4 separate regions of the Homo sapiens genome follow, and regions 2, 3 and 4 are each linked to region 1. The links are contacts of gene promoters, found by promoter capture Hi-C in blood cells and fetal thymus (Javierre and others, 2016). All regions are on one chromosome and are shown on one strand. The core of a region is centred on a gene start or on the middle of the fragment in contact, and the rest is flanking DNA. Distances in the headings are between cores, read along the strand shown.

Region 1 (7,237 bases), core at 1,715-4,214:
ATATGACATACAATAACCCTAACATGATTCCCAGCCTCTATTTACCTCTCCAGTCACTCCATGACTTAAATATTTATAGAACTTCGTGTTCTAAGTCAACAGTCACCTGATCATTCCACTTTTAAGACCATTTCCTCTATTTTGGCAGGAGTCGGGGGAGGAGGCTCTTTTCTGTGCTCCACATATGTCCTATACCTTGCCTGACATTGTCATATTCTTATATCCTCCACCCACACAGGATACTTCCTTTATACAGTTTATATTACTGTCACTAAATTTACTACACTGTATTATTGCCTATTTAATGATCTGTCTTTGAGCTAGATCAAGCTCTTGGAGAAGGGCCAATCATCTTTATATTAACAGTACCTAGCACAGTGCCTGGCACTTATTAAATGCTCAATAAACATCAGTTAAATGAATAAAATAACCAACAGGATATGTAGACTGCAAACTGTTTCCTTACACTGCCAAAGCTCCAACACTTAAGTCTTTCCATTGTTTCTTTTGCATTGTTTCCAAGACATTAGAATATATTAAATAAAATGCCTATTGTACGGCACCCAGGAATTTAGAGTACAGGTGGCTGCTAGTCCTGGTCCCTTCTCCCTCCTAAATACTATTGGCAGTTTGTGTCTTCTCTCAAACCAGAGAACCATATAGCTCCTCTATTTGCCGTATTTCATTCCTGAATTTCTTGTCTGCTATACATGCGAAACCTGCTAAATGCTTCTATTTATTCTTTGCATACCAAGTTTCTTTTCATTTTTCCTACATATCTTAGCTTTCTAGTGAAAGGCAAGTTATTACTCTTTGGAGGTCTCCTTTGTTTTCACATGTAGAAATTATCTCAGCAATGTCTTAGGTAACTTTTCATACATCCATCTGTTGATAGCTATTTGAGATCTTTACAGCTAAGGGCCTTGTTGCAGACCCAAAAGTTGTATTCTACAAAATCAAGGTTTAATTTGAAACGATTACTTGAACTTTGTTTTCATATGTATCACTGACAGTTCTAAGTACAGGAAAAATGAGTGTTGCATGTGTTTTAAAGGAGTGTTGGAAGCAAAACAGCTCCAGGTACAGCTTCCTCTGTAATATTAGTGCTCCAGTCCTACCTTTTAGTAACTTTGGTTTTAGAAACAAGCTGTGTGTGTGTGCTGGAAAATCTACCTAACACAAACCCAACTACAGAAAACTACAAACCACGCAGTCAATTCAGCACACATATACTCGCCTCGAGAAAATCATAAATTCAGTAACGTTCTTGCTTCATGAGCACTTTCTAAATATTCACTGAAGAACTGACCAAGTACGGCTGGTTCAATAGGGAGTTAGTAGGACTGTTCAAATCTACTTTTCAATGCGGTTTTTGGAAACTGAATACCCAGAGCATCAAAGTACGATGATCATAAAGCAAAACACACAACAAATCCCTAAATTTTAAAACCCAAAAATTCCTTTAGTTTGGGATTATTTATCCACATCTACTTTCATAGCCAGAAATACTTGAGAGCTGACATTTTCGGAAACACACTCTAACTCTAGTTTTCACTAAATATCCTTCATGGGAGCAACGCCAAAATAAAATCAACCCTTCAAGTGTCTTCTGAAGAAGCACAGTGTAAGGGAAACAACAAAACTGCACGTGTTTGCTACAGGAATAGAAAGCAAGTTAAAAAAGCGGTAGGCTTTGGGATGGTGATTACACAGGTGAATTCAAAGGTCAAAAAACTCATCGCACTGTACACTTAAGGTCTATGCTTTTTTTTTTTAACATCTCAAGGAAGGGGTGAGGGTGTAGGCTCAAGGGGAAAAAAGCAATCCCAACACCTTAACAACAGGAATACACTAAAGTGAAAATGCATTTTTCTGGCGGACCACCTAAAGTGTATGATTCCCGAGATTAGTTAAGTCCTGTCCCAAATTTGAGCTTCAATAGAATGCTTCTGGCCAGCTGTGATTCGCATCTCAAAGGTTAATTCCCTTCTCTCTCCTCCTCAAGCCGACCAGCAAACGCTCACCACCCTCCACATCTGCAGGCCGGCTCGCTCCCGGCCTCACAAGCCAACGCAGCTCTCCGACCTCACTCCGAACTCCACCCCTACTTCCGGGACACCACTCCTCTCTCGCGCCAAAATCGCCTTCTCTTAAACCCTTTCTGCTCAAGCCCTCGAATTTTCCATCCCGAACAACTTCTGGGTCTGTCCCACCCCAAGCTTTCCAAACGCCAAGCCTGCCCGCCCCGCCGCCGCCTCTCCGACCCGTTCCCGCGCCCGGTCCCCAGCCCCGGACCGTCCCCGCCATTCTCCCGGCCCGCACCGTCCCGCCCCGGCCCCACGCCCTCGCCCCGCGCCCTGCTCTCCGCACGCCCCGGTCCCTCCCCGCGCGGGCACTCACATTTTTCGCTGCCGCTCGAACTCCGCTTTCTTCTCCTCCTCCTCTCGCTTCTGCTTCTCGTCCAGGCTGCTGCGCTTGCTCACCGTGCGCCCGAAGATGTCGATGCGGTCGGGCGGGGACGAGGCGCGCTCCCGGTCCCGCTCGCGCCGGGACACGGCCGTGTTGGTGGAGCGCGAACGGGACCGCGACTCCCGCCGCCGGTTCCGTTTACTTTCCCGAGATTTGGAACGCTTCCGCACGCGCTCCTTGTCCCGGGATCGCGACCGGGACCGGCTGCGCTTCTTGTTGTGCTTGCTGCTCTTGGTGTGCTTGGAGCGGGACGAGCTCCGGCTCCGAGACCGGCCCATCCTTCCGGGAGACGCTCTAACCGCTCGCCTCAGGCCCCTCACGCGGCCAGTTCCCCTCGCCTCCGCCTTCGGACGCGGGCTGGCGGTTCTACCGAGGCCGGAGGAAAGAAAGGTGTCGGCCAACGGACTTTATGCCTTTTCCCGGCGTCTACAGCTGCCACGAAGGCCGCCTCCAACGAGAAACCCGTAGCGCCAGGCGCCCCTAAGATGGCAGCTGCGGCTGCACCGGCCGCCCTTCCCACAATGCCCTGCGCGAAACGTGCCGAAGCGTGGGCCCCGCCTCCTGACGATTTTTGCCGAAGGCAGGCGAGCGCTTCGGAGCGGACTCGTTTTTTTCCGCCAGTCTTGGCGGAAGCCTGAGACGCAATAGATGGAGACTCTCCTTTTCGCCTTGGCGTACTCTTTTTTTTTTTTTCCTCCCTGGTAAGATGCCAACGCCTGTTGAATGAATTAAGCACGTTTTAGTGGGATTTAAGTCCGGCCTCGCAGAAGTTGATTGATTGCATTATTTTCTAGGAGCTGGTCTTGTGGGGCAGCCCTAAAATGTATCTCCAAGTGACCCTGCACTCATCACTTGCTGCCTTGGACTTAGTTTCCTCATTCGTAGAATGGAGACACCACACTTTCTGAAGTGCTTATGAGACTTGCAGGAGGTAAGTAGGCAGCAGGTTTTGATGAATGTAACCTAATGCTTACTATAGGGCTTAATGTGCCTTCTAAATGCTTTAATGTATTAACAAGTGCTTAATTCTTACAATTCTGAATTAAGTACTACTATTATCCACGTTTCAGAGATGAGGACCCTGAGGTCCACAGAGGTTAAATAAGGGTCACACAACCAGTAGGTGACAGAGCAGGGACGTGAACCTAGATCATATTGTGCAAAGCCCTTGCACATAACCAGCAAGCCCTCCTCAACCCTAGCCACGAAAAGCTTCGTCCCTATGTGGCACAACAAACTGTGTCATTGTTAAGACCTAAAAGGAAAAGGCAATGTTAATATTTGCAGATGACAGGAACCCTTGAAAATCTAGGTGCCTCAATTTTAAAATTGAGTGCAATAATAAAGCTTAAGTAAGTAGAAGAAAAATTAGAATTATTTGAATAAGCAAAAACATATTAAAAATGAAATAATATTTCCTCCACAATGGCAACAGAAACCATAAAATACTTAGGGATAAACTTTAACAAGTTACACAATCTTTATTATAAACCTTTACTGAAAAGGCAGTAATAAGGCCCTAGTAAATGTAAAACATGCTGTATTCTTAGGTGAGTAGTCAGTATCAAAAATACTGTCAATTCTTCCCAAGTCAAATTACAAAATTAGTGCAATTCTCATGAGAGTCCCAAATTCTCTTGGGGATATGTGTTTTAGAACTAATTAATTTTAAGTTTTATATGGAAGATCACATAATTAATTATCAAGAAAACTTGGAAACAAAGAAGAGTAGTGTATTAGTCTGTGTTGACTGCTGTAACAAAATATCATAAACTAGGCAGCTTATGAACAACAAATTTATTTCTCACAGTTCTGAAAGTTGGAAATCCAGGATCCAGGTGCTAGCCAATCTGGTCGCTGGTGAGGACCCAGAGATTCACAGATGACTCACAGAAGGCACCTACTCACAGTGCCCTCACATGATAGAAGGGGAAAGCTAGCTCTCTGAGCTCTCTTTTAGTGGCACTTCTAGGGTCTGAAAGTTTGTGTTCCCTCAGATTCATATGTTGAAACCTAATCACCAGTGCAATAGTATTAAAAGGTGGGGCTTTGGGATATTGATTAGGTCATGAGGGCTCTAACCTCATAACTGGAATTAGTGCCTATCTCAGCCCATTTCCACTGCTATAACAGAATACTTTAGACTGAGTGATTTATAAATAATAGACATTATTTCTCAGAGTTCTGAAGGCTAAGAAGTCCAAGATAAAGGTACCAGCAGAGTCAGTGTCTGATAAGAGCTTGCTATCTGCTTCCAAGATAGTGCCTTGTTTTGCTGGGTCCACAGAAGGGGACGAACACTGTGTCCTCACATGAGGGAAGGGATGGGAGGCAAAAGGGCAAAAAAAAAGGGGGGGGAACTAGGACACTCCTGTCAACCTCTTTTGTAAGGATACTATTCCCATTCAAGAGGGTGGAGCCTCATTTCTTAATCACTTCCAAAACGGCTTCAGCTCTTAATGTTATTATAGTGGATTTTAGGCTCCAACATAGGAATTCTAGAGAGACACATACATTTAAGCCATAGCAATGCCCTTATAAAAGGGGCCCAAGGAAGCTTGTTCACCCGTTCTTTACCATGTGAAGACATAGAAAAAGGTGTCATCTATGAAGCAGAGAGTGAGGCCTCACCAGACACTGAATCTGCCAGTGCCTTAATCTTGGACTCCCAGCTTCCAGAACTCTGAGCGATAAATTTCTGCTGTTTATAAATGACCCAGTCTGAGGTAGTCTTATAGTAGGCTGAATGGACTAAGATAGGAACTAATCCAATTCATGAGGGCAGAGCCAGCAGCCTCACCTCCTAATACCATCGTCTCCCAGCTGCCCCGCCTCCTAATACCATCGTCTCCCGGCAGCCCCGCCTCCTAATACCATCGTCTCCCGGCAGCCCCGCCTCCTAATACCATCCTGTCCCAGCAGCTCCACTTCCTCATACCATCATGTCCCAGCAGCCCCACCTCCTCATACCGTCATCTCCCAGCAGCCCCACCTCCTCATACCGTCATCTCCCAGCAGCCCCACCTCCTCATACCATAATGTTCCAGCAGCCCCACCTCCTAATACCTTTGTCTCCTATCAGCCCCACCTCCTAATACCATCGTGTTCCAGCGGCTCCACCTCCTAATACCGTCATCTTCCAGCAGCCCCACCTCCTAATACCATTACATTGGTGATTAGATTTCAACATCTGGGTTTGGGAGGGCACACAAACATTTAGACCGTAGCAAACAGTACCTGTTTGCCCTACACAAAATTGAATAAACTGAACAACAAGATTTTAGGACAGAAATAGGAAAACAGTGCAATAGAAGGATAGATCTATTCTTTTACTTCAGATACGTTCAAGTAAAATCACATTTAATATAGAATGTATAGAATTACCCCCATTATAGTAGAAATATTTCTGTCAATCTAACCATCTGTCTGTACGTATCTGTACCTATCTATCCAGTGGGAATGATATATATGGTTTATATATCCATATATGGTGTGAATATATGATATGATGTATAGATATATCTGGAATTTTGTTTATATATATGTATATTACATATATATATAATCCAGAATGATGTCTGTTTAATGATAAAGATAGTTATTTCCAATGAGTTAGTGTATAAATTTTCTAGAGCTGCCCCGACAAATTACCACAGACTGATGTCTTAAATGAACAGAAATGTATTCACTTACAGTTCTGGAGTCCAGCAGTCCAAAATCAAATGTCAGCAAAGTTGGTTCCTTTGGAGGCTCTGGAGAAGAATCTGTTCACTGCCTCTCACTTAGCTCCTGGTGCTTGCTGGCATTCCTTGGCTTTTAGTCCCTGTCTCCATCTTTACTGTACGTCTGTCCTCTTCTTATAAGACCACTGGAGATTGGATGTAGAGGTATAGGGGATTATGGAGCTTTTAAAAGAGGATGATATTGGGGCGGGCGTGGTGGCTCATGCCTGTAATCCCAGCACTTTGGGAGGCTGAGGCGGGTGGATCACAAAGTCAAGAGTTCAAGACCAGCCTGGTCAAGATGGTGAAACCCCGTCTCTACTAAAAATACAAAAGTTAGCCAGGCGTGGTGGCGGGTGCCTGTAATCCCAGCTACTCAGGAGGCTGAGGCAGAGAATTGCTTGAACCCAGGAGGCAGAGGTTGCAGTGAGCTAAGATCGGGCTACTGCACTCTAGCCTAAGTGACAGAGCAAGACTCTGTCTAAAAAAAAAAAGATGATATTTACCCTGCTCAGGCTCTGGCCATGTCTTTTGGCTGCTGCCAGGAAAAAAAAAAAAAAAAAAAAAAAGGAAAAAGTGCATGAAAGCCCTTAATTTACCAGGGATCATCTCTGAGGATGCATTGAAGGAATGAGGAACACACACATTTTATGCCTGCATTTTATAGTATAATTATCAAAATCTTGACATTTCACACTCCCTGAACTCACCTTATTTTCTCATGTATTTCTTTATTGACTATTTTTTGCCACCAGAATCCAAATTCTCGGCATCTTGACTGTTTTGTGTCCACTGACACCCTATGGGTTAGCTAACCTCGATAAATATATGCCGAATACACCTTGAAAGAAGAGAATTGCATGGTTTTTTATCCTAAGTATAAGTTTGGCTTCATTTGTTTTGTTTTGTTTTGTTTTGTTTTCAGACTCTTAAAATTTTTAGTTGCCTCCCTTCCTCCATTCCCTTCTCCAATAAAAGCATTTTCTCAGTTCATGTTTGAATAATTAGGATAGCCAAATATAAATAACACATCATTCAAATCCAGA
Region 2 (7,237 bases), core at 2,961-5,460, 9.1 Mb before region 1:
ATAAGACTAATGGAACAGACTCCTTGTGGCAATAAAGTACCAAATAATAAATGAGACCTAAGGCCATGCCAGAAAAAGCTGAAGTCACGTACCCCTACCCTTATAGAATAAACTATGCTCTAATTGCCACAGGTTTTTCTTATTCTCTAGCAGCTAAACAAGCACTGGCCTCAAGATAAGCAGTATTGAAACAATCGTAGCTCACTGAGCACCAGATGCTGACTAACTGACCCCTCTGTTCCACAAGCCACAGCTACAGCTTTGATTGGATAAAAGACTGATTTCAGTAACTTTCTCCTGATAAGAGACCACTGACCATCTTCTGGTTCTGTCTGGTTTACAGAGGCTGAGCACTGAGTGCCTTCCTGTCCCTGCTTCACCTTTTGACATATAGGGCTTAATTGGAATGCATTTAAATGTGAAGTCTGCACCCCAAAGTGAACAAGGGATGCATGTAACATCCATGTTTGCTTACTATTCATGCACATGCCCCCTCTTCATGGATATGTATAGCTCCTCCTACAATCTGTTAAATAAATATACTTGGCCAATCCATTCAGCATAAATTCCTATCTCATCCTCCCTTGAATAACTTGCTTTTGGTCTCTGCCTGAGGTTACACTTCCCAGCCAGTTAGGATGGCCACCCTGCTGGCTGCAACTCTTGGTAAGAAATAAAGCTCTCCTCTCCAAATTTATAGATTTCATGATTTTAAGTTGACAGGTAGATGGTAGACATTGAAACAGAGAGCTAGTTAATGTTCGCTATTTCTATGTTTGTGAGAGCCAACATTTAAGGAGTATTATACAAAGCATGGTTAAATGTCTTACTAAGCCTCAGCCCAGCCTCCACCCTATCAATCACATATCCAGATAGAATCCTCGGGCTTAAGAGAGTCTACAGCCCTAATGTAAAGAGCAGCACTGAGCACTTTGAAACTCTGCAACTTTAATATAAAAATCTTAAGAATCATAACCTTACAGCACCACAATTTGTCCATTTTAGTTCCTTTCACTTTGTCAGTGTGCAGTATAGAACTGACTTAATCCATTCCAGCTTTGAAACTAATTGTTGCTTATATAATTTAATTACATTGACAGATTAATATTTCTTAGGTAATTTACATGCAATGTTGTATCTTTTCATTGGAAACATTAGTTTGCATGGAAAATGGCCAAAATCTTTATTAAAAACCTAACACCAGAGACCAGTCCCCAAAAGAATGTAATCAAGACAAAGTATAAAAAAATACTTTAACTTTCCTTGACTACCTGGTACACCAAGGAAATAAAAAGGCTTACTATTTCTGAAATGTCTCCCTCAGCTTCTCTCATTCAAACGTAGACTCTGATCAATTTCACCATCAATGCCATTGCACAGAGACAGCGCTTTGACTAAGTAAACAAGACATCTTTTTCAACTAGTGCAGCCCAATGAATGTGGTTAATAATTAAGTGACTAATATTTTGTAAGGCTGTGTGAGAAGCATTAATTAGGATAATAGTAAAAGATGGTGTACTGTTCTGTGAAAAGCAGGAAACCGATTTTTGAGGAGATAATTCTAGAGAGCAGGATGAGTAACTTCCCTTGACAAGATAACTGGATGGCTGCTGAGAAGAGTTGGATGGTCCTTACACCATAACTCTGCTCTGTCTTCCCCAAGATGCCTCCAAACCATTGCTGAACACAATAATGTGAGAAGCAGAAGAGAAATGGAAGGAATCAGACAAGGCATGCAGCTTCAAAGTTTAAAAAATTCTTATAATCTCATAAAAATTAAAAAGTATTTGAAATAAGTTTAAGAATCTAGTAATTGTAAAGGCTGTTATTTTTCTTGTTACACCATGTGGAGTGATTAACCTTATTGAAACAAATTAATAAGTGTATGACAAAAATACAGTGGATTTCCATGGCCTTCTTATACTCGCTCTGGGCACATACTCATGCCATGACTTATCCCCCAATTTAAACTACGTTCTTCTATTTTACTTTCTTCATTTTCTTTTTCATCCAGGTAAGCATAGTTGCATGCCCCGAAGTTGACAGACTGATGGTACAATTTAACTGTATATCTCCTACTTACATTTTAATTGGAAAAAAATAACTTTTACATCAAAAGACTAAAACCTAAGTGCAGAATTTCAGACAACAGTCAGTTGATAGAAGACATGATTTTTCAGATCTTTCCTGGCACTCCTAAATTCCAGGTCTACAAACTGCCATTGACTTTGCCTGTTGGAGACTTACTGTTTTTGAGATACAAGCTTCTTTGGAGATTAGACCAACTTTGGAGGACATTTACATCAACCTCACCTTGATTTGGGGAAAATCCTTATTCCTTTCCTTTTATTCTCATCTTCTCTGTGTTCAAAACCCAGGGTTTTTAGAAGCAACATTATAGTCCACTCAATTGCTCATTTATTTACAAACATTTTATGAATTCCCACAATTGTTTTTAGGCGATGTGCTGAATGCTGGTAAAGCAAAAATGAACAAAGCACTGTCCCTTTCCCCAGTCACTGGAGAAGACAGTGCAATCATGTGTTATTGGTGTTAAGACAGAAGTCTGTTCAGGGTTACACTTGGGGTCACAAAAAGTGAGTGGTAAATCCTACCTCCAGTAATATCAAGATGTGTTCATATACCTACCATAGCTTAATTTAAAAAATTCTTATATTTGTACAGAAAATAGCATTAGAAAAATTAGTACAACCATATTTGACCAGAAACCACATAATGCCTAACAAGTTCTGATTTTTATTACAAATATTTATTATTGTTGCTCTACTATTACATTTGGCACATCTATGGGTTTTTTTTTATTTCAAAAATGCTTTGCTAATCTGTAACTTATTATGACTTACAGCTTTTTTTGTTGAAAAGATTTTCCTACAGGAAGGTACAAAAAGGCATTCTAGTGAAAACATTTTAAATTACACTATTTACCAAAAAGCCTACCTTTATGTATTACTGCTCTATTGAAATTTTTCTTTTCAAACAAATTCCATTCATTTCTACATAATGCATGTCAATAACAGCTATCATGGAAAAATAACAAGCAAAAACTGTTTTTCTACCTGTCTTCATTTTTTGCCACTCCTCATGTTTCCTTCTATTTCTATTTGTGAAAGTTTGAATCCCTCCTTCTTGATGCCCTTAAATCCATAATTACTTCTTATGACAACTCTTTTGACGCCCACATTATAAATTATTCATTATTTTGAATGACGCCTTAATTTCAAATGCACTCTTGTACTCCTACTTTGTCTTCTGTATTTTTCTCCTATATTATTTTTATACCTTTAAATAATCTTGCTTTGAGACTTCTGGCATCTTTCTGTCTTTTTCTCTGAGAGATGCCCCTAGAATGCTGTTGCTACAGGGAATTTAAAAAATCAAGTGATTCTGGTATTTCCCTCATTCACTCTTACTTCATTCCTGCTTTCTTCCTTTGCTCTTCTGGTTCCTTACATCTAGAGTGCTCTCTTCTGCCCCATCTAGCCTGTCCTTTCGCCACTTCCTTCAAAACCTGATACAATATTAATTTGCTTCAGACAACTCTCCTGGACTAACCTACTCCAATTTACTGTTTCTCTCGACCTCTGGGAATGTCAGTAAAAACTATACATTTCATTCTCATTTACTTGGAAAGTGTTTGTTTTTGTAATTTCATTCAGTTATTTAGTTATATATTTTGTAATATTTTATTATTTATATAATTACTATATACCCTTTCTAATTCCTGATTTTTCCTTATTAGTTTTAAGCATAACCATTATTTTATAATATAAACATGTAATTGGTTGCTTAATATCTGTCTCTCCTGCTAGAATACAAGCTCTTTTGGCTAATTGCTTATTGTTTTATCCCCAGAGCCTAAAAAATATACACAGTAATTACTCAATTAATATTATAGTATCTTTGAACTATCGTTCAGATATTAGTGAAATGAAAGTGCTCACAAATGCTTGCTGATTTTTTAAAGCCCGATTTTGGCTGGAATCCCTCATACTTTTTGTTAACAGGTGGGATGTATTTTGCTGTAAGATGCAGAAAACCTTACCAACACACACTTAAATTGAAAGACACCAGCTGTTTACTTAGCCATAAGTCCAAATGTGGGCAGTTCTAATGTTGGTTTGACTGTCCAATGTTGTCATGCAGGACCTAGGTTCTTCCCATCCTCCTCCCTGGCCATCCGAAGTTGCTGGCTTTCTACAGTATTGCACCATAATGTCATAATGCATCATAGCCCCCAAATGGAGGCCACATTCTCATATTTCAATGTGTAAAGCAGGAAGCAAAGAGAGCGACATCAGAAAACGGGGATATTTCCTCACTCTTGTCAATATCCTAGAAATCCCTCCAGCCCTAGCAGCCTTCTCCCCATTCCAATGACAAGAACTGAGTCACGTGCCTACTTTTGGACTAACCGTGGGCAGAGGGAAAGCAATGCTATTAAAGTCCAATCCTGATTCATCCCAGCTTCTTTGGCAAAAATAAAGGGAAACTGCTGGGTACGCAAGCAACACTGTGCCTGCTCTTCTGCTTTGTTAAATGAACCACACTGAAGCTCTGTTTTCCGCAGAATCCTCTAGCTCTTAAGATTCTTCAGGCTTTTTCTTTTTTCTGCCTACATTTTAATCATTACGTCTTTTCTTTCAGATTTTTTTTCTGATTAAAATGGCCTTTTGAAACATCTACTCTCTCCACCCATACGTTTCTTTTATTGAGTTGTTTCCATACTCTTAATTTCTGCATTCTAATTCCTTTTCTTTTCAAAAGCACTGAGACATATCACATTTTTTAAAGGAAGAACAAAGTTTATTTTGCCCCTTCCTTTCCACTCCACATATATACTGCAGATTCTCAACTGTATTAGGAGCCTCACAGGTCAAGAAACCATCGTCTGCTCTCCTTATACTTGCCAGCAGCGTTTCACAGGTGCTAAATGTACTTGACATGCCCTTCCCCTTTATGTTTAATCAGAGGCATGCAGGCTTTAATAAGAAGCATTAGGAATCAGGGTTTTACAGTCGAAAAGTACCCCTCGCATTACAAACATCCTCTACTAATTTGTTTCTATTAAATTATCTGCATATTTGCTTCTTGCTGGTGTCAGGAAGTCCCAGAATACAGTACCTTTCCCACTTCATACCACCTTTTCCAACACCTTTTACAGAAAGAAAGGATGGACTTGGGTTTCCACGGTAACACAAGTGCGATAATTGAAGGTATCTGGCTATAGGTGAGATAACTCCCTTTCAGATTTAGTGGAGAGAGGAGAAATGAAGATTTTCTTTCTTTTTATTCTCCTGGCAATGCACTTTGGAAACTAAAGGGATCCTGCAGTGTCAGTTACTGCGTTAAGTTTTCACTATCTTACAGATTTACAGCTCTTGGGAATAATTCAAATTTCTTTTATATCATTTTTATTTTTTATTTCCCACAAACAAATGAAGATATAAGTTATTTCTATAATCATCTCAAAATAGAGTTTATGCTGGCATCGGAATGAACATGACTAAGGGGTTAGAAAATAGACATCCATCTCCCACCCAAGTCCTCTAAATTCTCTACACGTCCTGACATCCTTTTTATAGCAGCTAATCTTTCACCCAACATTTCACCTACAACCACAAATCAGGTAAGTACCATCATTTAAGCCAGAATAGGTGAGAAAATATGCTCCGACCTGTCATGTTTCTTTTGCCTCTTGGTGGTTAAAAATCAACCTTTATGGTACTGAGCATGAAATCTGAGGCCTGTCAATATAAGGCCTGTAAATAAATGAACTGTAACCACCCCAAGGGCTGCAGTCTCTATACCCCTTCTTATCAAAAACGTCAGCATTGATGAGAGGTCAGGGGAAATAGCCTGAGAAATGTCACAAAGCTGTCCTACTCTGTATTATGCTAAATGGAGTGACTACGGAGCCCACTCACTATTTTTGTGACAGCTTCAATCCAGAGCTTCTCAACATCTAGGGACCTAGGAGTCATGAAAACAGTTACTTAAGGCAACCTTCTGGACCCCACAATCCCAATACAAATTTCTCAAAAACATTAATCACTGGAACTTCATTCCTTGCAAAGTAAATGGACTTAGAGCTCCTTTGTAATGCAAGGTACTAGATGAGTTGTCATGATCTAGAGAGAAAGCTTCACGCTTCCTGGCTCTATTTAACAACCCTAAGAACTTCTTATCACCAAGATGCACAGTTAGAATCTTAAGACAGTCTGTCTTTCCTTGGAAAAGAAGTATAGCTTCTACTAACCCAAAGTAACCATGAATAAGCATACCAATTTTACACAAAATATGAGACTTCTGGAAAGCTAGGTGAACACCATACTTACCTACATCCTCTTGAAACATCCCTGCCAAAGTAGCTCAGATATGAAGCATCCATGTAAGCTCTTTCAATTTTAATTCACTATTTCATGTTAACTAGCCTAGGATGAAATAGTAGATCCTCTTCGGTTCCAGTTCCCTTAAAACAGTCCTGATTCTTAGTCCTTTTTATTAATATAATACCTTCACTGCTGATTCTGGTGGCTCAGATAGTACCATTCATATTTTAATGATATGTAATCAAGAAATGCTGAGTTATATTTTACTACATACACATTTTTAAATTCAGAGGACATTTGTCCTTGATAATTTTAAATGAAAACTTGGTGTGTGTTCATTACAGCAAGGTAATGCAAATATAAGTTATCCATTCTAATATAACGAAGCTATAGGGAAATAAGAAACTACTAAATTTGAGTAGTCTTTGTAGTAGTTTGACTATCGACAGAAAAGATGGTGAAAGAATACCTGGCTTTTAACTCAGACCAAAATCCCCTCTGCATGATGACCTTGTGGGAAAGAGGAACGGGGAGAGGTATGCCAGGCTCTAACAACAGAACTACAGAAACGTGTTATTCGCAGGAAATGTGCGACAGTAACGAACAGGTGAGACTAGTTTGAGAAGGACATAGTTTAAAGAAAGTAAACTGAATAACCAGTTACTGCAAAAAATAATGCAGGAAAGCTTGGGGATGTATCGTCTCCTAAATTTGACGTTATGGGTGGGAGAGGATGTGTAACTAAGATGCAATGCTAGCGACAGAACGCTAAGTTTTAAAACTCAATAGTGAAAGAAAAAAAATAATGTTTTGGGAGGAACGCCTGGAAGACCCATGCAACTGCTGCACGATGTTTCCTTAAGGACCGGAACATTTCTCACCCTGAA
Region 3 (7,237 bases), core at 1,801-4,300, 6.0 Mb before region 1:
ATGAGGAAGGCATGGTTCTCACCCAATCAGAGCTCACAGCCCTGCAGTGTTTAGGCTAGCATGCAAAAACAATTAATTATGCAAGACAAAATAACATGAAATTCAAATAAAAGAGCAACTGCAGCAAAACCACCCCCAGGGTACGGAGGCAGGAGTACCCACAGCTGTGGGGAGAGGAGGGCCTAGGAGTTGAGGGGTTCAGCAGCTCAGTCTCTCTGACTTTCTCCTGCGTGTGTCTTGCCCCTCTCATCCTCCCCCAAGACAAACCACAGGATCCAGAACTTCTCTTCCCCAGTGCAGGTGACAGGAACCAGAACCCCTTTCCCCAAAGCCAGCCATAAAACCTAAAAATACTACTCTCTAGCCTTCCCCATGCCTTTCTGTATAACAGCTGGCCATAAAGACCTTGGACAATGAGACCCTCATTCCAGAGGGTCCTACCCCATTCCTGGAAGGAAGAAATGCTACAACAGAGAGGCCAAGAAGAACCTGAGGAGACAGGCCTTGCTGGGCTTCCCTACTCGGTCTATTTCCATCAGCTCACACCCTTTTTTCCAAATGAATTTCCACATGGCGGTCTGTGCTTCTTCACATCTAAGCAAAATCTGGAGAGTTCACCCTGGGTCTCTGGGTCTTCATTCTGAAAGCTCCTATGTCATTTAAAACTATGATTGAACACGTTTTGCTTTTCTATTGTTAATCTTTGTCATTGGGGTGTCAGCCATGACCCTTATGACAGGGTAGAGAGGGATCACCCCCTTTCTGCCCCTACAGAGTGAATCAGAAGGTTCTGAGCACCGTTCTGCTGATGGAATTCACACGTGGAACTTAGGTCTCCTGTCAGCCCAAAGCCCCCTCCCTTCAGCGCTGAGGAAAGAGGGGCCTGCTGGGTCTAGACCTGATGGGTCTGCCTCGGTGTATAAGAGCAGCAGAAACACACCTCGGGGATTGGCACCTGGTCTTACTCTGCCAAAAATGCCTGGGGATCTGCTCTGATCCTGCGACTGCTGCTGCATCACAAAGTGAGGCTGACAGAACAAAGGTCCCCAGCAAACATGTCCATGCCCTAATCCCTGGAACTTTTGACTATGGCACCTCGCACGGCAAAGGGACTTTGCACATGTGATTAATTAGGGAAGCTGAGATGAGATCATCCTGGGCAATCTACACGGGCCCTGAATCCAATGGCAAATATCCTTATGAGGGACAGAAGACAGACACCGAGGAGGGGGCCATGTGAAGACACAGCAGAGCCGGGAGGTGTGCGACCACTTGCCGCAGAACGCCTGGAGCCGCCAGAAGCTGAAAAAGGTAGGGAAGGACTTTCCATACAGCCTTTGGAGGGAGGGCAGCCCTGACAGCACCTTGATTTCTGGTTTTGGATTCTGTGAGCAGAGAATAAATTTTTGTTGTCTTAAGCTTCCCAGTTTGTGGTAATTTGCTATGGAAGCCCTAGCAAATGAACACAGTTACTAAGTAACTCTTCTGTGTCAAGTCAGGATAGCAAAGGCTGCCTTGGCTTAGGCAGAATAAAACAGCCAGGGCTCACAAGTGATGGAAGAACTGCCAGGGGGAAGCTATGAAATCTGCACCCTGTAGATCTGACTGTTAAGATGTTCTCAAGGTAGTAGGATCTCATTTCAGCCTGCCCAAAGAAACTTTCACCTGTTGGCCCAGTCTACAGTTACAAGACTAAAGGCAAAAGGAACTGTGTATATTCATAAAAACCGGGCTCTCGTTGTTTAAGTGGTTCCCATAGGGCGAGATGGCAATTCCAACACTGTGATACACACATATGTACTGAACAAGTAGGCAAATGTGCCACAGGCAATGGGAGCCACGTTTCTCACTGTTGGAATGGGAGGTGAGAGACAGCAGGGAAAACGCAAGAGTGATCCACGGGGTAAAGGATTAGGGCTGGAGACACCAGTGTGGACTCACAGAAACAAATGGTTCCATACAGAAGTATTTAGTGATATGTGTATATACACAGGTCAGTACACACAGACATTTCCTTGCTCCATCAGCTGAGAGGACCTAAAAGCAATGCCACCACAGTCGAAATGAGCACACCAGCATCCAGCTTGTGGTTTCTAACACCATCTCCAACAGAGGGGACCAGGGTTCCCCAGAGAAACGGCTGAACCTAAGACTGAAGCAGGAAATACACAAGATCAATCTAGGGCATCTAGCAATATTGGAAAGCAAGGAAGTGCTCAAAAATAAACAAACCCACCAGCCCACAAAGATGGGACAAGTTGAAAGGACACAAGAGACAATGGAACAGGCTCCCAATGGCCAAAGCAGGAACAACTGGAGAACAAAATAAGGAGTATTGGATTAGAACCTAAAGTATAATATAAGTATCTGTGAGTCCATAATGATATAAATGGCTGAGTAAATAAATGCAAGAAAACAGATAACCCTCCTGCACGGAAGAATTCCAAATAACATATGTAGACACTTTCCCCTTAAGGAGATGAAGCCTAAATAACTCCTCCCTTCAGAAGTGCAGGCTGCTCACTGTGACTTCCTTTCAGAGCACAGTATGAAGGGAGGGGGAAAGTGTGACTTTACAGTGGAGAAACCTGCCAATCACTATTTCAGTCAGGTAATCAAGATCAACAGCAAAAGAGAGAAGTCATGTAGACAGTATGTGTGCTTGATACGATGTAGCAAAAATGACACTTTATCTCCATGGTCTTCCTCCCAATCCCCACACCCCTGTGGCAGTGACTCTGTGGGGTGAGGGCTAAAGCAAATAATAAATTATGCTGGGTTGTTCTGAACTGAGATTTCTGGAGTGGAAGAAAGGGGTATGGATATAAGTTCTATGACATTAAGCAAAAACGTTGTAGTCCAGAAAAAGACTTGGATGTTACCAGTATGCGCTCATGAAATATTTTATCTTGAACAATGGTTTTCCCTGTCTCTGTCTGTTGAAATGGCTTAAAAACAACTGCCAATCCAACAGCAATGAGCACCTTATTAGGGCCAGATTATGGCCTTTAAGTACCATTTTTCACTTTAAAACAGCTAACCAGGGCTCCTTGGAGAAACAGCTGATTTCAGATTTGGGGCAATAAATCTGACCATAACTTCCTCTTACTGTTGGGAGGAACTTCAAAACTTATGATGACCTACAGAATCCTCTCTCCCTGGCTCCCTCTCCAGTCCCATCTCCTCCCTGCCAAGGACTCAGCCACATTCACCTTCTTTTGTCTCCTCAAATCTGTGGTTGGCAGAATAATGGCCACCCAAAGATGTTTACATCCTAATCCCTGGAACCTATGAATATGTTAACTCCTATGCCAAAAGGGACTTCACAGATGTGAGGACCTTGAGGTGCAGAGATCAATCTGGATTATCCAAGTGGGCCCAATCTAATCAAATGAGGAATCCTTAAAACTGGAAAACCTGCCCTGGATCAGATCAGACAGATGTGACGACAAAAGCAGGGTCAGAGAAGGGTAATATTGTTAGCTTTGAATATGGAGGAAAGGGCCAATAAGCCAAGGAATGCAGGTGGCCTCTAGCAGCTGCAAAAAGGAAGAAAACAGATTCTCCCTAGAGCCTCCAGACAGCTGTTATTATACACATATTTTTAATTAAAAAGTCCAAAATCACCCAGCTAGTAAGTGGCAGTGTCAGGACGAGAAGCCAGGCGGTCTGACACAGAAGTTGGTGCCCTTAACCATGATGCTAATATTTGTCTCCCACATAATAGAAATTCCAACACCTTTTTCATTCATTAACATGATACCCTCCAGTGTTCAGAATAGCTTAATAAATAGCTGCTGAATATGAATGAATGGGACAAAGATATAACTTCCCCCTGCTATTTTTTTCTTGGTAAAAAAAACTGTGTTATGGAAAGTAAAATATGTACAAAACTAGGGTAATGATAGAAGGAACTCTCAAATACTCATCTCCCAACTTCAACACTTAGCAACATACGGCCAATCTTAATGCCAACATTAGTTTGGTATTTATTGTCTGGAAATACTCCCCCTTCAATAATCTTTTTCAGAATCACATGTTCCTAGCTCTCATTACATTTTCATTTATCTGTGTTAACACGAATTTTTAAAAGAAACCTTAAAATGGGCAAGTCTTTCTAAGCAAAACACAAAACAAAGACACTATAAAGGGGAGATCGATATTTTTAAGTACATAAAATTAAAATTTTTTGCAAAGCCTAGAGACTGTATTACACAAAGTACAAAAAATAGGGTGGAAATAGTTATAGTACGTATGACAAAAGATTAGTATTCTCAATGTATAAATAATTCTTATAAATCAAAAGACAACCCCAGAGAAAAACAGATGAAGAAATGAATATACACTTTCTCTACTATTCTTTCCTTCCCTTTCCCTCCTCCTTTAATTTTTTGAGACAGGGTCTCACTCTGTTGCCCAGGCTGGAGCACAATGGCATAATCAGTGTAATCACAGCTCACTGCAGCCTCAATCTCCTGGGATCAAACAATCCTCCTGCCTCAGCCTCCTAAAGTGCTGGAATTACAGTACAAGCCACCGTACCTGGCTCCCCACCACTACTATTCTTAAATGACAAAGAGACAAGGGCTTCCAACTGGCACTATTTGTCAGCATACTTCTTGTGGTGCTCTAGAATTTGAGCAATGAACACTCTAGAACAGAGGCTAACAGTTCTCACCTGTAAGCTTGTTTCTTCAAGGAAGTGTTGCCTTAGAATCCAGATCCACAGTAAGCCTGAGAGTCTTAAAAACTTTTGACTTCAGAATCCTTCCACATGATTCAAGAAAAAGTTAAGTCCACTTCACAGGGTGACCAGAAAGTCCATGGGGACCAAATATCCAGTTTTCAGTCCTGTTGGGAGGTGAGATAAGAGGAAGTCAACTGAAGAAAGTTAAACATTTAAGCAATAAGGGGCTTACAAACAAACATAAATGACCTAACTACCATTAGAAGGCAATCTCAGACCCTGGGCACATACCCAGGGAAGGAATATACTTATATTCAGTGCAAAAATGCAGTCCACATGCTTGAGGGGCCAAAGAATGCCTTGAATAGAGGAACCTTCCCAGTGACCTAGAGAAAGGGTTCAAAGTTCTCAAGACCTCCTTGACAAAATGTGGTACATATACACAATGAAGTACTATTCAGCCATTAAAAAGGAGATCCTGTCATTTGCAACAATATGGTGCAGCCGGAGGTCGTTATGTGACGTGAAATAACCCAGACACAGAAAGACAAACTTTGCATGTTCTTACTCATTTGTGGGAGCCAAAAATTAAAACAATTGAACTGACTGAGATAGAGATCAGAATGATGGTTACCAGAGGCTAGGAAGGGTAGTAGGGGGGTTGGGGGAAAGCAGAGATGGTTAATGGGTACAAAAACACAGAAAGCAGGAATAAGATCTAGTATTTGATAGCACAACAGGGTGACTATAGTCAGTAATAATGTAACTATACATTTAAAAATAACTAAGAGTATCGTTAGATTGTAACACAAAAGATAAATGCTTGAGGTGATGGATACCCCATTTACCCTGATGTGATTATTACACATTGTATCTCATATACCTTGTAATGAGGGTTTATTATTACACATTGTATCTCATATACACCTATTACTAGGTACCCACAAAAATTAACTATCAAAAAAGAACTATTTGAGAAATAACAGCTCTATATACTCTCCTACAAATAAGAAAAGTAAAAAGAAAAAGAAAAAATGTCTTCTCAGCCATCAGGCAAAGCCAATTTTAGTAATGCTGAGCTCCTATTTTGGTAATGTTGAGCTTCTTTGATTCTTTGATGAGGGTTTCCAAGTCTTTAAAGTCAGATAAATTTAGATTTAAAAAAAGTCAAACCACTTCTGAAGTAGACTTGCCAAAAATGGCAAGCATGAACCTAATTAAGCCTCTAGATCTAACTTCTAGTTTACAGGAAATATAGGGGATAGAGAAGCAAGCCAAACCACACTCCACGAAAAGCAGCCCAACAGATCCAGAGTGTGAGGCACCCTACAGGCAATCAACCAAGTAACATCGACAGTCATTGGTATTGAGGAAACCCGCCAAGGCTGCTCTAGACTTGGGTCGGCAAACCACAGCCTGCGGGTAAGTCCAGCCTGTGGGTGGATTTTAAAACACAAAAGCTTTGGAAATTAAGTATTATTGGAACACAGCCATGCTTATCCATTTACTATCACCCCTGGCTACTTCTGCATGACGATGGCAGAGCTGAGCAGTTGTGGCAGAGACCATAGGGCCTGCAAAGCCTGAAAGAGCTGGTATCTGGCTCTTCACAGAGACATCTGCCACCCCTGCCCTAGATTGAAAGGGGCAACAGCTGAGCACGGTGGCTCACGGCTGTAATCGCAGCACTTTGGGAGGCAGAGGCAGGTGGATCACTTGAGTTCAGGAGCTCCAGACCAGTGTGGCCAACATGGTGAAACCCCGTCTCTACTAAAAATACAAAAATTAGTTGGGTGTGGTGGCATGCGCCTGTAGTCCCAGCTACTTGGGAGGCTGAGGCATGAGAATCACTTGAACCCAGGAGGCGGAGGTTGCAGTGAGCCAAGATTGTGCCACTGCACTCCAGCCTGGGTGACAAGAGTGAGTGAGACTCCGTCTCAGGAAGGAAAAAAAAAAAAAAGACCAGCCTGGGCAATACCTGTCTCCACCAAAAAAAAAAAAAAAAAAAAAAAAAAAAAAAAATAGCTGGGCATTGTGGCACATGCCTGTAATCCCAACTACTCAGGAGGCTGAGGTGGGAGGATGGCTTGAATCCAGGAGTTCGAGGTTACAGTGAGCCATGATCTCAGCAGAGCTGGTTCCTGTCTCAAAAAATAAAATAAAATAAAAAGGTAACAGTCAACAAATTCTTGTCTGGATGTGGATTCAAACAAACCAACAGTAAAAATAAGTTCATTTTTGAGGTGATCAGGGAAATCTGATCATGGACTAGGTTTTAGAAAATGTTAAGGAATTATTGTCAATTTCATCAGGAGGTGATAATTGTATTATGGTTACACAAGCAAATGCCCTTTCTCTGGAGAAACATACTGAACAATTTAGGGGTGAAGTGTTATGTTGTCTGGAATAAACTGCTTTAAACTGCTTCAGCCACAACCAAAAAAAGAAAAAAAAAGATGAAGTGGATATGGCCAAACAAGACTTGTGAAGTCCATTTGATGGATATATGGAAATTCATTCTACTTTGCTGGGCTTTTATGTTTGCTTAAA
Region 4 (7,237 bases), core at 2,609-5,108, 5.9 Mb before region 1:
GAGTGAGACCCTGTCTCAAACAACAACAAAGCCCAACAAAGCCAAATACTGAATAGTTAGGAAGATACTATGATTTAACATGGGGAGAAATTTTAGAAAATTAAATGTGAAGGAAAACAAATAATTTATAGCAATTTTAAATGCACAATAGAGTCATGAGCTGACAAAAGGTCATGTAACCGGTTTTGACGTTATCTGTTTTATTGTTTCAATAGTGAATTTATTGGCTCATGCAATATATTTTTGGAGATGGCGTCTTGCTATGTTGCCCAGACTAGCTTCAACTTTTGGGCACAAGTAACCCTCCTGCCTCGGTCTCCCAAGTAGCTGGGACTATAGGAGTGTGCCACTGAGCCTGGATATTATCTGCTTCAGGCTCAAATATTTGAAAATTATTTCACAAACGTTTGTCAAGGTTCAAATGGCCTTCTAAGTAGAATACTAAATCAGGAAATACTTTGTGCTCCTAAATTAGCGACTGTACCTCAGATTGCTTAGAACATAAACGTGTTCTAAGCAATATGTTCTAAGCATAATCATGTTCCAAGCCACAGCCCCAGGATATATAAGGCAGACTGTGGACCACACCATCAACGAGATGCCCTGGTAGGAGGCCAGGTCCAGACTCTTGGGAAGTCAAGTGGATGGCTGACTCAGTGGATCTCAGATGATCTCCTCCTCTGCTCTTGCAGGGACAGCAGGAAACCTGGCCTACCTCCAACGCCCCTGCCCCTACATCATTTCCCAGTTCTGGCTGGCTCTCCCCTCCTTGCTGTGACTCCCCTGCTTCTCTATCTCAGGGGGCTCCTTCTCCTTTCTCCAAGGCCTCCCACTTCTTTGCTGCCACTGAAAATACTCACAAATGCTCTTTTCTTTGAAGGGATTTACTGTTAACGTACATAGTGGAACAGTTTGGAAAATGCCTTTCACTAGCAAACGCAAAAAAAAAAAAAAAAAAGCTACAATTTGTTAGAAAGCCAGGCAAAGTGATCAGTCTAGTCCAGTGGTTGAGACCAAAGGCTCTGGTGACGGACAAACCTGGACTTGCCGGCTGCACGACCTTGAACTGCTTAGTCTTTCTAAGAATCAATTTCCTCACTGGCACAACACAGTACCACCACCACTTTCTTCAGAAGGTGGTGGTAAGGATTAAAGGAGAAAATGTATGCAAACAACTAGTTCTCATTATTGTTAGATTTTGGAGAAATTAGCCGCTGCTTCCCAGTCCCTGACTGCCTGTCTCGGGCGCACCCATGTTGCCAGTGTTTATTCCTGCAGATGGGCTGAGCACTAGGGCCAGCAGTAGCCCATCGGGTGACCTGGTGCGACTGAGAAAGGCGGGCCCTTCTTTTGGGCAGACCCGGGGCACATGGCTTCCTTGGTCAGGTGTCTGGCACAAACTGTACAACCATGCACAGTGACCTTGTTCCCAACTCTCCTTCCTCCAACACTAAACGACTTCTGTTCCTCAATGACCTGAGCCAGGCCTGGCACTCAGTTAAAAGAAGCCCTGTCTGAGCAAGGTGGCAGAGACGGGGGACCACCCTCTCTACATCCCTTCCCCCCTTTTTTTGAACAGGGTTTCACTCTGCCACCCAGGCTGGAGTATAGTGGTATGATCATAGCTCACCACAGCTTCACCTTACTGGGCTCAAGGGACCCTTCCACCTCAGCCTCCCAAGTAGCTGGGACTATAGGCATATGCCACCATGCCTGGCTATTTTAAATATTTTTTTGTAGAGACAGGGTCTCACTATGTTGCCCAGGCTGGAATCAAACTCCTGGCTTCAAGCGATCCTCCTGCCTCAGCCTTCCAAAGCATGGGGATTACAGGTGTGAACCACCGTGCCCGGCCTCCACCATTTTTTACAGTCAGGACATGAAATAGGAAAGGATGCTCTGTTTTCTTCCAGATGGGCCCTAGGTTGAACTTTCTGGTCCCTCTTCTCCACATGATGTCCTGCCTGGGCTCCCTGGCTCCTCTGCCATAGCTGGATCGTTAGTTCACCTTATGAAGCAACAAAAAGAGAGACCCACTGTGGCCTCTGCTACAGGCCAAGCAGAGGGCACAACCCAGGAGGAATGAAGTCAGTGTTCTGCTCGCTACCTGACTCCTGCGACAGAATCAACTGGCCCCTCAACAGGGGCTGAATCTGGAACAAAGCAGACGTCCCTTTATCCTACAATTTCTCAAACTTCTCATATCGAGCCTCTGTTTTCAGGAGGTTAAAACAAATTAATCATCAGTGAGAAGGCCAAAAAGACCCCACACAGGGACCCCAGAAAAACAAATGTCATCCAGCTGTGAACCATGAGGGCCCAATGACAGCTGACACGGCAGCCTGGACTGCGGTAAACAGAATGGCGAGACCAAACCTAAATGTTTCCCCTTGGAAAAATTAGCAGCAGCCACCTACAGAAGAATATTCCCCTCCATGCATCCAGGGGCCTGCTGACCTCTGCCCAGCCTTTCTACCTCATCTGTAACATTCAATCACATAGCCAGCCATCCTATGCACGCTGAGAGGTGACAGCGCCTCTGGGAATCAGATTAGAGAACACAATCGTTTGTGACCCTGCATCCCTGGGCCTGGCAGTTTCCTGACTGATCAGACCCTGGGCCCCTCAAGGCAGGGGCGCGAGCCACCACCACCGCCCTCCTCCGTGCAGTGCTGAATACATGCTACTGAAGGCTAAGGTATCGTCCTGCTGTGACGGCCTTCCCATTTTATAATTCAGTAGCGCACGAGGGCCATGGCTGCCTATAGCAAGAATGTGTGTGGTTTGATATTCACAGTTCCACTGTCCCAGAAAGTTTCCAGTTTGCTAGCTTGTAGCCATTTCCCCTATCTAGGTGCACTGGCCGTGATTTTACCCCACTCCATCTGGGGCGCGCCCGGCGCAGACAGGACTGCAGAGAAAAGGGACAGGGAGGGGACCTAGTCAGTCCCTACTATAACTGTTTCTCAAGACATTCTCCCCATGCATTTATTTGCTCTCCCGGGGAAAGAGCGAAGTGTGGGATGACTCATAGTGGCTAGATCGTTCCTCTAACTCCTCCCTTCTTTTGTGTGTGGTTTAAAAAAAAGAAAAACACACACGCAGCCCATAGCCACAACATCAACAAGACCAGAAGCCCCGCAGAGTTCGCAGGAGGTGGGCAGTGGCTGCGCCACCTGCTCGGCTTCCCCAAACTCCGAGCCCACGCCGGGAAGCGGCGGCTCGGTGGCCCCGGGCGCCCGGGCCGGTGGCCCCGCGCTCGCGCCGCTCCGCTCCGCAGCCGAGCGTGGAGTAGCAGGCGCTCGCGGCGCGGCGGGGGAGCCGCCGCGGAACCCAGGGCAGGCGGCCAAGCGGCCCGGCTGTGTCCAGCCATCGCCTGCGCCGCGGCCAGCTGGCGGCCAGGCGCGGGGCCCCGCGGCCAGATGGCCGCTCCGGGGACGCGCCGCAGGCGCCGGGTGCGCCCGGGCCGAGGGAGCGCCGGCGCGGCTGTGCAGGCAGGGGCTGGGGGCGGCGACCTCTGCCCGGGCGGAGAAGCTCAGGGGCCCGAGCGCGGCGGGCGGGGCGCGCAGCCTCCACGCCGCGCCCTTTGTCCCATGTGCGGCTCACACAGGGGCCCGCGTCCCCCGTGACCCCGGCCCGGGCCGCAGCTCAGGTCCCGGAACCAACTCCTCCAGCAGCGCCGCTCTGGCCCGGGCCGCCGTGCGGGGCTCGGGACACGGCGGCAGCGGGGAACCCGCGCCCGCTCCGCGTCCAACTCCGCTCGCCCCGCGGCGCGCTCGGCCCTGCAGGGGCCGCCCCGCGCGTTACCTGCAAGGAGCCTGAGCCCCGGCCGCATCTCCCTCCCGGGTGCGGAAACTCTGGCGGCTCCAGGCACCCGCCCGGACCTGGCAGGGGGAGGGGCCGCCCGCCGCGCACCCGACCCCCCCCGCGCCGCGCCTCCCGCAGCTCCCCACGCGCGCGGGCGCCCCCCAGCACCAGTCTCGGCCCGCCCCCTCCGCCCGACCATTGGCTGCTGCTCCCGTCACTTTCAGGCCACAGCCAAGTCCCTCCTCAGCTCATTGGCGGACGCGCCGGTGACGTCAGGCCAGGGGGCGCTAGTCGGCGGCGAAGGAGGCGCAGGGACAGACGGACCCGGCGGGAGAGGAGGAAGCCGGGTTGTGGGCGCGGAGCTGAGGCGGAGGCGGGGCCGGGGCGGGAAGGGGCGGCCCCAGCTGGGTCGGGCGAGGCTGGCTGCGGGAAACCGAGTGAGCCCTCGCTTTTCCTCCGGGGTCCGCGCGCGGGACCCTATTTCTGGCCTGTCTCGCGCTTCGCCTGCGCGGTGGTCTCCACGCTGGGACTGCGGCGTCCTCGCAGAACAGCCAGAACTCCACTTCTTCCTGTCCGGGAGGAGTTGTTTAAAACATGCGTATCTCCACCTTCTGCTTCTTAGAACAGAACTGACTGAAGCCGTGTTCTTCCCGCCGAGACCATGCCGCCCCATCGACCCTGCTGCGGCCAGAGCCACCCAGGGCGGGCCCACTCACCGCAGGCTCGGGCCACTTGGTTCCAAACCTCCACTCCCATCCAGGGGCCCGGCACACCCACCACACTCCCACTCTCAGAGGTCTTTGCCGCCTGCTTCAGGAGAAAAGAGAAACTTCCACTTTCCACCGGCAAAACTGCACACCTGCTCCCTCCATCACCGAGCCCCCCCCCCCACCTTCTGTTTTTCCAGTATCGCAGAATCCGATCCGTTGCTCCCTCTGGACTGGAATCCGTATCCTCGGCATTTCATCATTCCAAGATTCTCTACTCCACGTACCCTTGCTGCCACCCTCTTCTACTTTCCATCGCTGAAGTTGGTGAAAGAGGCGCCTGCCCCCAGTTTTGTGGTCTCTCAACTCCACGTGTTCGTTTTCACACTCGGTGAAATTGCCTTTTTAATTGTCGCAAGTAGCATCCACATCACTAAAGTCAAAGGACACTCTCCTTTCTCGTGTTAACTGATCTGAGCAAAATTCCTTCTTTCTCCTTAAAACACGTCTTCCTGTGGCGGGGGTGCTCCACTTTCCTGTCTGTCCCCAGTCTTGGCGTGCTTGTCTACTCTGGGTGACCACCAAATAACAGAGTTTTCAAGGTCTCAGACCTTTCCTCTTACTCCACAATTTTTCCCTGAATGATTTAACCTGCTGTCAACATTTAAATCAATATATCCCAAATTTGCAACTCTAATCTTTGCTCCTCTGAGCTCCAAATCCGTTTATCTAGCTTCCTATTCAGCTACTCCTGGTAACAAGCACCTCAAATGGAACCCATCCAAAACTGAATGCGTCCTTTCCCTGCTTGCTTTCAACTCCCTGTCTCCCTGTGATAGTGAAGACACCACTATCCAGTGTTTCCCAAACTCTGCCTTCACCTCGGCATCTAACAAATCGCCAAGATTCTACTTCCTAAATAACTCTGAAGTCTGTCCACTTCCTACCATTTCCAGTATTACGTATCATAATGTGCTTACTGCACGTGCGTTTTCCCGGCCCACACTCAGTGATGTCTCGTTGGTAGACTGTAATGGGCCATGGTCGAAGTATTTACACCATGGAAATTAGCCAACATTATGAATCATGAATCAGGGATCGATTTGTTTTGCTGATTGTCTCTAGACTTCAGAAAGTGATGGGGAAGATGTTAATAATGTAGATTAAACTTAAAAATGTGTTTAGTGCTGAAACAAGATTGCAGTTTAATGAGTTTATACAAGGGTAAGAAGTAGTTTAACAGATCACATATCAGATTTAAGGACAATAAATTTGTTGGCAAAAAGTGGATCGGTATGTAATTTCACTAGTCACATCATGGTTGAGTTACAAGCATTGGATGGATTCAGATACAAGCCTTTGGCAAAAAAGAAGCAAAGCTTTCTGTGAGAATCAGTCAAGTAGATAGAACTGACAATAAAGAGTGTCTGCCTTTTACTTGTGTATTGTTTATTACACATCCTTTATATCAGAAACATTTATAACACACATATGGTTGTATATATAGGTGGAAATAAAAAGCAGATGAGATTTTAGTCAGTTTTTTTTTTTATACTTTTAAGTTCTAGGGTACATGTGCAGAACGTGCAGGTTTGTTACATAGGTATGTATGTGCCATGTTGGTTTGCTGCACCCATCAAGTTGTCATTTACATTAGGTATTTCTCCTAATGCTATCCCTCCCCCAGCACCCCACCCCCTGACAGGCCCCGGTGTGGGTGCGTGAGGTTCCCCACCCTGTGTCCATGTGTTCTCATTGTTCAAGTCCCACCTATGAGTGAGAACATGTGGTGTTTGGTTTTCTGTCCTTGTGATGCTTTGCTCAGAATGATGGTTTGCAGCTTCATCCATGTCCCTGCAAAGGACATGAACTCATCCTTTTTTATGGCTGCATAGTATTCCATGATGTATATGTGCCACAGTTTATTAATCCAGTCTATCGCTGATGGACATTTGGGTTGGTTCCAAGTCTTTGCTATTTTAAATAGTGCTGCAATAAACATACGTGTGCATGTGCCTTTATAGTAGTGTGAGTTATAATCCTTTGGGTATATACCCAGTAATGGGATCGCTGGGTCAAATGGTATTTCTAGTTCTGGATGCTTAAGGAATAGCCACACTGTCTTCCACAATGGTTGAACTAGTTTACACTCCCACCAACAGTATAAAAGCGTTCCTGTTTCTCCACATCCTCTCCAGCATCTGTTGTTTCCTTAATTTTTAATGATAGCCATTCTAACTGGCATGAGATGGTATCTTATTGTGGTTTTGATTTGCATTTCTCTGATGGCCAGTGATGATGAGCATTTTTTCATGTGTCTGTTGGCTGCATAAATGTCTTCTTTTGAGAAGTGTCTGTTCATATCCTTTGCCCACTTTTGGATGGGGTTGTTTTTTTCTTGTAAATTAAGTTCTTCGAAGATTCTGGATATTAGCCCTTTGCCAGATGGGTAGATTGCAAACATTTTCTCCCATTCTGTAGGTTGCCTGTTCACTCTGATGATAGGTTCTTTTGCTGTGCAGAAACTCTTTAGTTTAATTAGATCCCATTTGTCAATTTTGGCTTTTGTTGCCATTGCTTTTGGTGTTTTAGACATGAAGTCCTTGCCCATGCCTATGTCCTGAATGGTATTGCCTAGGTTTTCTTCCAGGGTTTTTATGGTTTTAGGTCTAACATTTAAGTCTTTAATCCATCTTGAGTTACTTTTTGTATAAGGTGTAAGG

The links. Contacts are between HindIII fragments. The CHiCAGO score rates a contact against its expected background, and 5 or more counts as called.
Region 2: a fragment that was not itself captured here is called in contact with the fragment with the promoter of ARGLU1 in region 1 in 3 of 17 cell types (total CD4 T cells, naive CD8 T cells and total CD8 T cells); the score reaches 8.6 in total CD4 T cells.
Region 3: a fragment that was not itself captured here is called in contact with the fragment with the promoter of ARGLU1 in region 1 in 1 of 17 cell types (naive CD8 T cells); the score reaches 6.0 in naive CD8 T cells.
Region 4: a contact is called between the fragment with the promoter of TMTC4 here and the fragment with the promoter of ARGLU1 in region 1, in 3 of 17 cell types (non-activated CD4 T cells, activated CD4 T cells and naive CD4 T cells). The highest score is 9.4, in non-activated CD4 T cells.

Annotation. Positions count from the first base shown.
Region 1 is chr13:106,565,173-106,572,409 of GRCh38, forward strand. ARGLU1 (arginine and glutamate rich 1) reads right to left here and starts at 2,965. Exons shown (of 4, transcript NM_018011.4): 1 at 2,401-2,965. The coding sequence starts at 2,747. RefSeq lists a silencer at 2,127-2,426 and enhancers at 2,321-3,231, 2,907-3,026, 3,037-3,106. The HindIII fragment of the contact is 1,462 bases long and covers 2,218-3,679 here.
Region 2 is chr13:97,425,516-97,432,752 of GRCh38, forward strand. No RefSeq gene overlaps it. Among named protein-coding and RNA genes, the nearest start is that of RAP2A, 5.0 kb to the right of the region's middle. The HindIII fragment of the contact is 3,897 bases long and covers 2,263-6,159 here.
Region 3 is chr13:100,579,147-100,586,383 of GRCh38, forward strand. It overlaps GGACT (gamma-glutamylamine cyclotransferase), which reads right to left. Exons shown (of 3, transcript NM_001195087.2): 2 at 4,679-4,851. Among named protein-coding and RNA genes, the nearest start is that of GGACT, 6.0 kb to the right of the region's middle. The HindIII fragment of the contact is 3,266 bases long and covers 1,418-4,683 here.
Region 4 is chr13:100,670,937-100,678,173 of GRCh38, forward strand. TMTC4 (transmembrane O-mannosyltransferase targeting cadherins 4) reads right to left here and starts at 3,859. Exons shown (of 19, transcript NM_032813.5): 1 at 3,808-3,859. RefSeq lists enhancers at 2,235-3,124, 4,450-4,529 and silencers at 3,240-3,319, 3,370-3,729, 3,760-4,259. The HindIII fragment of the contact is 7,703 bases long and covers 1-5,891 here.